4 separate regions of the Homo sapiens genome follow, and regions 1, 2 and 3 are each linked to region 4. Evidence: promoter capture Hi-C in 16 types of primary human blood cells and fetal thymus (Javierre and others, 2016). All regions are on one chromosome and are shown on one strand. Each heading gives the region's core, a stretch centred on a gene start or on the middle of the fragment in contact. The rest is flanking DNA. Distances are from core to core; before and after follow the strand shown. Region 1 has its middle 22 kb from the start of FBXO45. Region 2 has its middle 25 kb from the start of LINC01063. Region 3 has its middle 11 kb from the start of SMCO1. Region 4 holds the start of SENP5 (SUMO specific peptidase 5).

The links. The method cuts DNA at HindIII sites, captures the fragments that hold promoters and counts their contacts. A CHiCAGO score of 5 or more calls a contact.
Region 1: a contact is called between a fragment that was not itself captured here and the fragment with the promoter of SENP5 in region 4, in 1 of 17 cell types (endothelial precursors). The highest score is 5.1, in endothelial precursors.
Region 2: a contact is called between a fragment that was not itself captured here and the fragment with the promoter of SENP5 in region 4, in 1 of 17 cell types (fetal thymus). The highest score is 8.2, in fetal thymus.
Region 3: a fragment that was not itself captured here is called in contact with the fragment with the promoter of SENP5 in region 4 in 1 of 17 cell types (endothelial precursors); the score reaches 5.0 in endothelial precursors.

The regions. Positions count from the first base shown.
Region 1 is chr3:196,589,536-196,592,480 of GRCh38, forward strand. No RefSeq gene overlaps it. Among named protein-coding and RNA genes, the nearest start is that of FBXO45, 22 kb to the left of the region's middle. The HindIII fragment of the contact is 528 bases long and covers 1,261-1,788 here.
Region 2 is chr3:196,606,300-196,609,318 of GRCh38, forward strand. No RefSeq gene overlaps it. Among named protein-coding and RNA genes, the nearest start is that of LINC01063, 25 kb to the right of the region's middle. The HindIII fragment of the contact is 2,280 bases long and covers 513-2,792 here.
Region 3 is chr3:196,525,096-196,527,953 of GRCh38, forward strand. It overlaps the pseudogene NAA50P2. Among named protein-coding and RNA genes, the nearest start is that of SMCO1, 11 kb to the left of the region's middle. RefSeq lists an enhancer at 2,823-2,858. The HindIII fragment of the contact is 2,253 bases long and covers 397-2,649 here.
Region 4 is chr3:196,866,454-196,869,561 of GRCh38, forward strand. It overlaps SENP5 (SUMO specific peptidase 5), which reads left to right and starts at 1,467. Exons shown (of 10, transcript NM_152699.5): 1 at 1,467-1,620. RefSeq lists a silencer at 1,244-1,823 and an enhancer at 2,475-2,976. The HindIII fragment of the contact is 1,751 bases long and covers 710-2,460 here.

The DNA of each region.
Region 1 (2,945 bases), core at 275-2,774, 280 kb before region 4:
AGCAGTTGATGTGCTCTCGGCTCATTGCAACCCCTGCCTCAGGTGATCCGTGTGCCTCGGCCTCCCAAAGTGCTGGGATTACAGGCATGAGCCACCGTGCCCAGCCCAAAGCATTTAAATTTTATAAAAGAAAAATAGGTGTAAATGTTCTGTATTTGCCGCTTTGTTTAGTGGAAAGAGACGCCAGAGACAGCTTTACCAGTCTGTTGTCCTGATTTCTTTTTTGGATCCTCCCTCGAACTGTTTGCTTCTTATTTAATGTGTTCACTAAAATACTGTTGAGAGCAACATGTTCTCTAGTCTTCAGAATAATAGTTTGCTGAAAGAAGTAGCCCTTTAAGATTTAAGATTGTTATTCAGCTTTTGTATGTAGGATTTCATGATGAGTGGCTCAAGAAGTAGGAATCATTTGGGGAGTTTCCTTAGGTCACCCTGTTGATAGTGTTTAATTTCTGTTTAAGGCAGGAAAACATTAAGAAAAGATTAGAGAAGTCAAGTCCTGTCTATGATATGATATGATACTTGTACACCATGTTATATTTCTGCCCCCTTTCCTGTATAAATAAAATGGGGATAAAATCAAGTAATGGTTTTGAGGTCATAGCTCCCTTAAGAAAGTCTCCCTGAAATAATGTATTAAAATTCTAGCGTCTCAAGTTAGATTCATTAGAGGCATATTGTAGTGGGAACAGACCAGATATCTTTGTTTATTTTAATATAGCTAACTTGTTCATATTCCCAACCCATGTTTAAAGAGCATATGATTGATCTGTGCCCCCTTGTTGGTCATCTTCACCTTGGAAGGAAAGGAGGCTTAAGGTTGCAATGAGAGTTGTTGATGACATCTCTAACCCCTCAGTAGGCCAAAGAGTGATGTAGTTCATGATCCAATTGCCCAGAATAGCACGGACAGATGGTTACTTTGCTAAAAGACATGTTGGTAGCAAAGACACTGCTCTGAGCAGAGACTGGTGGCAAAGCCCAGCGCAATCCACCCTTCTGAGCACAGCCTACAGGAACTTCAGTGCCGACGGAGTCACGGAGGCCACTCTAGGTTTTACATGGCCATAGTTGAGCTTCTGAAATTTTGAAGGATCTCCCTGCCCACCCAGCTACTAGTCATCCACTTGGTAATGTAGACAGAATGAAAAAGGCAGGAAAGATCATTCATCAAATTATTTTCTAACATCCGTTATCTAGCAGGCTTTTACCAGGTACTAGAGATGGAAAGATGAGAAGGAAAAATCGAAGTTGCTGACAAGCTTCTGTGAAAGCAAATGTGGAAACAGACTACTGTGAAACTGAGGTAACTGCTTTAACGAAATTACAGGTGAGGTCCAGGGTGGCATAGGAGAGGGAATAGTTAACCTGGGGCGATGTTTAAGCTGAGCTTAGAAGATAGTAGGTGGGAGCTAATGAGGATAAATCCACTGTTCCAGGCAAGTGGGATAGGACGTGCTATGATACGGAGGCACAGATAGGTCCGCTATGTCTGGAACCATGCTGGACAAGTGGTGGGGGAGGGCATGGAACAGGGAAATTGCGTCTGGATTATAATTGCCATACCAAATAGTTTGGGTTTTGTCTATTTTTTCATGGGGGAAGCCATTCAAAAGTTTTCAGCAGGGGCATGATTAGCTACAAAAACCAATATCTGAAAGGTGGGAGTCAGGAGGTCTAGGCAGAAAATGATGAGGACCTAAACTAAGGTGACTAAAGATGGAGGAGGGATGTATTTAAGAGAATGCAGGAACACATGTGGACACCATTTGTATGTCAAGAGTGAGAAGCTTTTTGGTGCAGACATTTATAAGGTACTGCTTATTAAGAAAGGGTATTGAAAAGGAGGAATAGATTGGGAGGTGAGGGGCCGAGCGCAGTGGCTCACATCTGTCATCCCAGCACTTTGGGAGGCTGAGGTGGGCAGATCACCTGAGGCCAGGAGTTCGAGACCAGCCTGGCCAACGTGGTGAAACCCCGCCTCTACTAAAAATACAAAAATTAGTCGGTTGTGGTGGCAGGTGCCTGTAATCCCAGCTACTCGGGAGGCTGAGGCAGGAGAATGGCGGGAACCCAGGAGGCGGAGCTTGCAGTGAGCCGAGATCGCGCCATTGCACTCCAGCCTGGGTGACAGAGCGAGACTCTGTCTCAAAAAAAAAGATTGGGGGGTGAGGGTAACGAGTGCGGTTTTGAACATGTTAAATCGGAGGTGGAAATACAGAAAAGGCAGTTGGAACTAGTGAGCCTGGAGTTAAGGAGATCGGCAGCCAGCTGGATGAGAGAGCTGCTGGTGTGCCGCGTTCCTCACTGGCCGTACGGGCTCCACAGCCCAGCGGGTAGAGCGAGGGAGGCGGGCCTGCAATACCCCCAAAGGACAACCAACTGCCTTCTAAACCGTGACTCTGCCAACTAAAGGCTGCGGGGGTGTTTTGTTGTTTCGGGATTTTTCTTTTCCTTACATACCCCACACCTCTGAATAACAATCCTAGCAGTTCAATTTTTTTTTTTTTTCTTGGAGACAGAGTCTCGCTCTGTCGCCCAGGCTGGAGTGCGGTGGTGTGATCTCGGCTCACTGCAACCTCCGCCTCCCGGGTTCCAGCCATTCTCCTGCCTCAGCCTCCCGAGTAGCTGGGATTACAGGCGCCCGCCACCACGCCCGGCTAATTTTTGTATTTTTAGGAGAGATGGAGTTTCACCGTGTTAGCCAGGATGGTCTTGATCTCTTGACCTCGTGATCTGCCCGCCTCGGCCTCCCAAAGTGCTGGGATTACAGGCGTGAGCCACCGCGCCCAGCCTCAGTTCAAAATTTTTAGGTGCCTCTTTTTAATTTTGGGAGAAGCTCAGCAATGTTCTATCATTTTGGTCTTGAGGCAAGACCACTGGATCAACAGCACAGGACTCATGCGGTCTAAGTCCTGGGGGCGCTGCTGGTCACGACGCGATTC
Region 2 (3,019 bases), core at 403-2,902, 260 kb before region 4:
AAAACAAAAGGAGAAATAGTCTTTAAAACATTTTTAATATAGGTTTTTAATCTATCTAGAATTTATTTTTGTTATGGAGAAAGTAGAAATTTCATTATTAAATACATACTGTTAATATTGTATCCTGCTCCTATTTATTGAATAGCTTATGCTTCCATTGATTTACAGTGCCTCCTCTGTCACATATCAAGTTTCCATATGTACATATACATGGGCCAGCTCCTGGACTGTCTGATTCTTTTGGCCTCTTTGTCTACACATAGGCTAGTACTATACACTCTTAGTTGTTCTCACTTTATAATCAATCTTAGGGTTTTTGTTTTGTTTTAGAGTCACGGTCTTGGTCTGTCACCCAGGCTGTGGTACAGTGGCATGGCCATAGCTCACTGTACCCTTGAACTCTTGGGCTCAAGAAATCCTCCCATCTCAGCCTCCCTAGTAGCTGGGACTTCAGGTGTGCACCATGACACCTGGTCAATCCTTTTTATAGATCTTTTATAATGTTTTAAATAAGCTTTTTTCTAGGGCTGGAGTCTCACTATGTTGCCAAGGCTGAGCTCGTATTCCAGATCTCAAGTGATCTTCCTGGGATCGTAGGCTGGGATTACAGGCATGAGCCCTGTGATCACGGCTCACCGCAGCCTCTGTCTCCTGGGCCCAACTCCTGATCTTGAACTCCTTGGCTCAAGTGATCCTCCCACCTCAGCCTCCCAAGTAGCTGGGACTACATGCACACACCACTATGCTGGCTAATTTTTTTGCATTTTTTTGTACAGACAGGGTTTCACCACATTGCCCAGGGTGGTCTTGAACTCCTGGGCTCACGCAATCCGCCTGCCTTGGCCTCCCAAAGTGCTGGGATTACAAGCATAAGCCAGGGTGCCCAGCCCCAGTCTTCATTTTGAAAGAGCAATTCCCTCAAACTTTTGGTTTTAAAAAATTGTTTTGGTTATTCTTGGCCCTTTACTCTTCTATATAGATTTTAGAACGTACCTTGTGAAGTCACCTGGAAGTTCTGTTGGGATTTTTATTGAAAATTGAAAATATAAATCAATATGCATGTTGAATCAATAGACTTGGGAAGAATTGGTATCTTTATGATGAAATGCATTCTCATCCATGACTGTAGCATATCTTCATCATCTTTTATGTCATTCAATATTGTCTTTGAAGATCCAATAAAAAGATAGGGTTCTCTGCTTGGGTTTGGCCCCTGTAGAGGCCAAAATATTATCTTTATTGCTGGTAGCGACCAGGTTAGAGGACGTAGCTTTAGGTCTGTTAGCTGAGTGTTTAGTAGATCAAGGCAACAAATATACAAACAATTTGATAAACATATATATATATATATAAAACACCGCCAGCAGTTTGCTCCCCAAAAAGAAAAGCAGAACTAACATATCCAGATTATTCTTCCTAAATTTACTATTTAACATCACTCTGTCCTCCAAGGAGCAGAATGAGTAAAGAGGCAGAGAGACTGAGACTATCACACCAATAGAGGTCCTTGAAATGAATGGAAATCTTAGGAGTAGGAACTAAGCATGCTTTCCTCACAGGCATCTAAGTTGTTTGTGTACAGATCCTTTGCCCATTTAAAAAATGAGTAATTTGGCCGGGTGGAGTGGCTCATGCCTGTAATCCTAGCACTTTGGGAAGTCGAGGTGAGCAGATTGCCTGAGCTCAGGAGTTCAAGACCAGCCCGAGCAACATGATGAAACCCCGTCTCTACTAAAAATATTTAAAAAATTAGCTGGGCATGGTGGTACACACTTGTAATCCCAGTTACTTGGGAGGCTGAGGCACAAGAATTGCTTGAGCCTGGGAGGCAGAGGTTGCAGTGAACTGAGATTGCACCACTGCACTCCAGCCTGGGTGACAGATTGAGACTCTGTCTCAAAAATAAAAAATAAAATAAACTAAAATAAAAAATGCGTAATTTGTCTTTTTATTGTTGAGTTGAAGTCCAATTTATTTACTTCTTTTGTCACTTGGGCTTTTGGTTTCATATCTAAGAAACCATTGTCTAGTTCAAAGTCACAAAGATTTACTCCTTTGTTTTCTTCAAAGGGTTTTACAGTTTGATCTCTCACATTTAGGTCTATGAGAATTTAGAATTATTTTTTTGTTTATGGTGTGAGGTAGGAATTCAACTTCATTCTCTTACATGTGGATATTCACATGAACTATAATCTGTTCAATCATTTCTCCTTTACTGTTATTTTCTTCTGAGGCTTTTAAAAGGGGATATATTAGAGACCCAATGTATTGTCTCGATTGCCTAGCTGATGTCACATATTTTTTACTTGAAAAAATGTCTTTATCGTGTTTACTGCTCTGTCTTGTGTTAATTCACAAATTTTCTCTTTGTGCTCAGTATGGAGTTTATTCTATTAGATTTTAAAAGTCATTAAACATATGTCATGTTCGTAAGATTTCTAACCCATTTTTTTCTCATTTAAAAATAAACTAATGAATTTACTATTTTTGAATATGAAACATAGGCACACAGCACAGAATTCAAAGAATAAAAAATACAATGATGAGGTTATTGGCTTTAAAAATATTTACCTGTTCTTGTTTCATTTTTGTTAGTTCTTGTTTCATAACTTTGTTATAATGTGTGTTATTTATAGAGCTATAAGTGTGTGTGCAGGGGGAGTTGGTAGAAGACAACATAGGTCACAGCCTGTGCAAGGAAGAATAGTGGGAGACAGAAATAAAGAGGTAAGTTGGGGTCAGTTTGTGGACTTTGGAATAAAAGGGAAGAAAACAGTTGTCGAAGAGTATGAAGCTTATTATCTTAGCCATGTAGTCTTTGAATAATTTTTTTACCACTTAATAAACATTGTGCTTTAAGAAGGCTAAAATGCTTCAGATATACCAAAGGGAGGAGATGGGTAGTCTAGGCCTCATTAAAAGGCTTCCATCTCAGGTGGGTACCCAACCACCTTATACTTCCTTGACCCCTTTTCACAGGCCTGTATGCTGATTATAAGCCAGACGTTTCAGACATTTT
Region 3 (2,858 bases), core at 273-2,772, 340 kb before region 4:
AAAAAACAAAAACAAAACCAAAAACAAAAAAATTGTTCTCGCCTAAATCCAGCCACTTTCCTCCCCAAGGAAACTAGGGAACCTGAACATGACTGTGAACAAGTCCTGATACAGACCTATGCAGCCAGGGAAGATCTCAGGGAAACCGCTAGAGAACCCACACTGGACCCTCTTCACAGATGGGAGCTCTTTTGTAGAACAAGGAATCCATAAGGCAGGATATGCAGTAGTCACTCTAAATGACGTCATTGAAAGTGTGTCTCTCCGTCCAAGCACTCAATTAGCTGAGCTGATAGCTCTTACTCGAGCACTAGAATTAAGCAAAGGAAAGGTAGCTAACATTTGCACTGACTCCAAGTATGCTTTCTTGGTTCTTCATGCTCATGCTGCCATCTAAGCTTTCTTTTAAATATTTTCAGTATGTCCAAGAGAAAACACCTGCTTCCGTTTATTTAGCGGTAATAACCTATATGGACTTAAAAATTTTTTTTGTACAGATGAGGTTTCACCATGTTGCCCAGGCTGGTCTTCAGACTCCCAAAGTGCTGCGATTACAGGCGTGAGCCACTGCACCCGGCCAACATTTTCTTTTTTAGAAACAGGGTCTCACTCTGTTGCCCAGGCTGGAGTGCAGTGGCATGATCACGGCATACTGCAGCCTCGACCTCGTGGGCTCAAGTGATTCTCCTTCCTTAGCCTCCCAAGTAGCTGGGACTACAGGTATGCACCACCACGCCCAGCTAATTTTTTTTTGTTTTAATTTTTATGTACAGACAGGCATCTTACTATGTTGTCCTGGCTGGTCTCCAATTCCTGGGCTCAAGTGATTCACCCGCCTTGGCCTCCCAAAGTGTTGGGATTACAGACATGAGCCACCACACCTGGGTTATTGTTGGATTTACTGAAGAAAAGGGGCAGGAGAAAAAAGTTAAATTACGACAAATCTCTAGGTCAATTAGAAGCCATATCTCTGGGATATTTTAAAAAATCAGTCTTACCGCTTCCGACTCTAAAAGTTAATGCCATTAGTAACAACAGCAGGAAAAATAAACCTGATAAAAACCAGCCCATTCATTTTAGCAAAAAAGCAGTTTAACTCAAAATACTTAGACCAAAGTATAACACTACGTACCCAAGGTGCCCCACCCACCAGCAAGAAGAGAAGAAATAATTGCTTTAAAAATCAAAATATGCGGCCAGGCGCCGTGGCTCACCCCTGTAGTCTCAGCACTTTGGGAGGCCAAGGCAGGCAGATTACCTGAGGTCGGGAGTTCAAGACTAGCCTGGCCAACATGGTGAAACCCTCTTTCTACTAAAAACACAAAAATTAGCCGGGCGTGGTGGCGCGTGCCTGTAGTCCCAGCTACCTCGGGAGGCTAAGGCAGGAGAATCGCCTAAACTCAGGAGACGGAGCTTGCAATGAGCCGAGATCCGCCACTGCACTCCAGCCTGGGCGACAGAGCAAGACTCTGTCTCCAAAATAATAATAATAATAATAAATATGCTCAGCATTTCTTCCAGAGATAGCAACGGTGCTACTCCTGAGAGTGCTCGGAAGGACTAAAGCTGGAGTGAAGATAATGTCTAGGGATTGGTATCCCACAAAGGCTTTCAAAGCCCAAGGTACCACAAGCACACTAAACTCGTCTATGAATTAGAAAACAAGATATCACTGCTGCTTCTTTCTGTCTTTTGAAATGTACAATATTTTGTAGGCTCTGCCCTTCGATGTGAAAGCAGGACTAAGAAAAAACAACTAAGAGGGCCAGGCTCGGTGGCTCACGCCTGTAATCCCAGCACTTTGGGAGGCCGAGGCAGGCGGATCATGAAGTCAAGAAATCAAGACCATCTGGCCAACATGGTGAAACCCTGTCTCTACTAAGAAAATACCAAAATTAGCCGGACGTGGTGGCAGGCGCCTGTAGTCCCAGCTACTCAGGAGGCTGAAGCAGGAGAATCATTTGAACCCAGAAGGCGGAGGTTGCAGTGAGCTGAGATCTCGCCATTGCATTCCAGCCTGGGCAACAGTGTGAGACTCCGTCTCCAAAAAAAAAAAATAGAGACAGAGTCTTGCTATGTTGCCCAGGCTGGTCTCCAACTCCAAGCTAAGAAATGTGAAATTATTTGACACCTAAATTTTTAGAACCATTTATCTTAACTGTGAAATTAAACAGATCTACCTTCTCCTGCCTTCAGTCAAACCACCTCACAAAAATAAGAGAACTGAAACAATCCAAACATGATCTTTTTTTTTTTTTTTTTTTTTTTTTTTTTTTTGAGATGGAGTCTTGCTCTGTGGCCCAGGCTGGAGTGCAGTGGCACGATCTCGGCTCACTGCAACCTCTGCCTCCCAGGTTCAAGCGATTCCCCTGTCTCAGGCTCCTGAGTAGCTTGGGACTACAGGCACACGCCACCACGCCTGGCTAATTTTTGTATTTTTAGTACAGATGGGGTTTCACCATGTTGGCCAGGCTCGTCTGGAACTCCTGACCTCAAGTGATCCACCCACCTTGGCCTCCCAAAGTGCTGGGATTACAGGAGTGAGTCACTGCGCCTGGCCCAAACATGATCATTTTTAAAGTCCTTGAAAGTATTAAAACTTTGAAAAGAAAAGAAAGAAGGAAAAACAAAAACATGGCAGTGCAGGAAAGCTTTACAAGAAAGAGGGGGTGAAAATCAATGGGCTTGTCTTTTTTTGTCAACAAGCAAGTGCAAGAAGGTTCATTTTGTGACTTGTTCAGTTGTGTTTTGCATATCTCCATTCTGATCGGAAGGGACTTTGAGGTTTTTCTGCAACTCCTGAGCATCTGCAGGCTCCATCCTCTTATCCTTTATCTGTCTTTGTCTCAGTCATCTCA
Region 4 (3,108 bases), core at 217-2,716:
GGGTGCGGTGGCTCACGCCTGTAATCCCAGCACTTTGGGGGGCTGAGGCGGGCAGATCACGAGGTCAGGAGATCGAGATTATCCTGGCTAACTTGGTGAAACCCGGTCTCTACTAAAGAAATACAAAAAAAATTAGCCAAGCGTGGTGGTGGACGCCTGTAGTCCCAGCTACTCAGGAGGCTGAGGCAGGAGAATGGCGTGAACCCGGGAGGCAGAGCTTGCAGTGAGCCGAGATGGCGCCACTGCACTGCAGCCTGGGCGACAGAGCGACACTCCTCTAAAAAAAAAAAAAAAATCACTGACAAAGAGAAACTGTTAAAAAGAAGTGAGAGGGCCTGGTGTGGTGGTTCACGCCTGTAATTCGAGCACTGTGGGAGGCCCAGGTGGGAGGATCACTTGAGCTCAGGGGTTCAAGACCAGCCTGGGCAACATAGGGAGATGTCATCGCTACAAAAATAATGATAGTAATAGTAATAAAAAATTAGCCGGGCGTGGTGCAGGAGCCTGTGGTCGCAGGTACCCTGGAAGATGAGGTGGGAGGATCGCTTGAGCCCAGGAGGCAGAGGTTACAGCGAGCCTAGGGTGTGCCACGGCACTCCGGCTTGGGCGAGACAGCAAGACCCTGTTTGGAAAAAAAAAAAAAAGAAAAGAAAAAAGAAAAAAAAATCAACAGTAATTGCAGCCATTGCTTAGAACTAAGACTAAACAAAGCTTTTGTTTGGAAAGGAGTACTTTTTCATTAACATTGTTTAGAATTTTCTGACACATGATGATAATTAAAAGCAAACCATCCTGCAGTTGGCTTCGGTATTGTTTTTATCTTCTCCACCATCAATGCATATCCTTACTGCCTACACAGGCTCTCAGCAACGCACTGTTGGTTTTCCATTGCAGTCACCTCCACTTTATTCTTCCAGATCGAGTATGTTCAAAACTGAACTCATCTTCCGCCATAAATCTGCTATTATTATGTTTTTGCCTGTCAGGACATCGGCTTATAATTTTGGAAAGCATTCACAGTTGGGGCGGGTAAGACATAGATAAAGAGGCCAATCACAATACCAGGGGTAAGATCAATAGGAAAACCAGAGAGCGGACGCCTGGGCCAGGCCTCACAACGTCCAGAGCTGGAATGGGTCTTTTGCTTTCGGCGCAGGGGTGACGGGATCAGCGGAGGGTAGGGGTGTACACTAGCTGCGGTCTGATTTAGCCCTTTTAGGTTAAAAGCTGGAGAAGGGGCTGAAGTCTCAAACGCGCTTAGCAGCTCCTGAACGCGGTTCCCATCCCAGCGCGTTCTGAGGGAGGCCGGGGCTAAGGACGCGGTGACGGGCGGGGGCGGGGCGGCCCCGGGTCGGGAGGCGGGGCGGGAGCGCCGGAAGCGGGCGGTGCCAGGCCCAGCCTCGCAGGCGGAAGGGCGCGGAGGAGGTGACGCGATAGGCCAGCGCCGGCGTCGCGGCAGCCGCTTCAGAGGAAGCTCGGCGGCTGTGGCCGCGGCGAACAGGCCGGACGCCTCGTCGCTGGCGGGGCTTCCCTTGGAGCTGACGAAGGCGGGGTCCGCGGTCCAGGCTGCTGCCGCGACGGGGCCGGCGGCGGGGCAGCTGCCAGGAACGAGGGTAGCAGGTAAGCGGGGACGCGGGCAGACGAGTGACGGACTCAGCGATCGCCTGGCGGGGCTGGCTGGGGCCATTCCCGCGCCGGTGCGCCACCTCAGCGCCCGGTCCGGAGGCCTCGAGCCGCCCTCCCCCGCCCGAGCTGGAGGCCGCCGTCCGTCTCGGCCACAGCCTCCCTTTCCGGGGGAGGCGAGCGAGCTCGTCCCGAGGGGCCGCTGCCCTGCGCTCTCGCTCCAGCCGGGCTGTGCGTCGCAGGCACCGGGAAGCTGGCGCCCCCCAGCTCCTCCTGAAGCCGGGAAAGCTCTGAGAGGAGGAGCCGCTGTCACAGGCCTCCAGCTCCGGCCGCCGTGGAAGTCCGGGGTTTTTATTTGCTTAGACCGCTCTGCCTCCTTCCGGCCTTCGTTTCTTTCCTCGCGCTCCCCGGGACCCTTTTCCAGAGAGCCCGGTTGGGCATGAGCGCGGTGGGAGACGTCTTTTCCCTTCGGTCTGCTCTGAGCGGTATCAGCCTCCGCTCTACGCCCTGTGGCCACTCTGTCGGGGTGGAGGGATGCGGAGAGGATGTGGGAGTTTTGGACTTAGAGCGAGAATAGCCGAGGTGAAATCCTACCCTGCTCTCTGGTAGTGTTTTTCATCTCATGCTAGATAGACATTTCGACCTTTTTCACCGCAGGTAAAGTGGGACTTTCTTCTACCAATGTAAATTATAATGTTTGGAGAATTAAATGAAGAAAGCAGACGTTAGTTATGAAATGTTTTGAGAATCTGGTTAAATTTAATTTAAGAATATCCAGGACACTTCATGATAGGTTCCTACTTATGTTTTTTTTTTGCATTTTGCCCGGAATAACTAAGCTTGGTATGGAAAAGGTTGCCTAGAGATGCCAGGCGCTCGTGTGGTCAGAGCCTAACTGCAGTCTCTGTTTTGGGTGGGCAGCATCAGGAAGAAACCAGACTCTCTCCTAGCCATCCACATGTCTCACGCTTATTGATGGCATATTATTGGTATATGAGGGATGGCTTATATCAGTTTTGATCTTTACTCAAGATAGCTTTTTCCCAGTGCATCTTTTCTAGGAGAAAAGCTTGGTATGTAGAGGAGGGTGCTGGGGAGGGGGGCTTCATTTACACCTGGGCTCACAATTTTTTTTTGGAGGGGGGACAGGGTCTCACTCTGACACCCAGCCTGGAGTGCAGTGGCGCGATCTTTTCAGCTCACTGCAACCTCCTCCTCCCAGGTTCAAGCGATTCTCCTGCCTCAGCCTCCAGAGTAGCTGGGATTACAGGTGCCCGCCATCGCGCCCGGCTAATTTTTGTATTTTTAGTAGACATGGGGTTTCACCATGTTGGCCAGGCTGGTCTCGACCTCCTGACCTCAAGTGATCTACCTGCTTCCGCCTCTCAAAAGTGCTGGGATCAGCCGGGCGCGGTGGTTGACGCCTGTAATCCCAGCACTTTGGGAGGCCGAGGCGGGCAGATCACCTGAGGTCGGGAGTTCGAG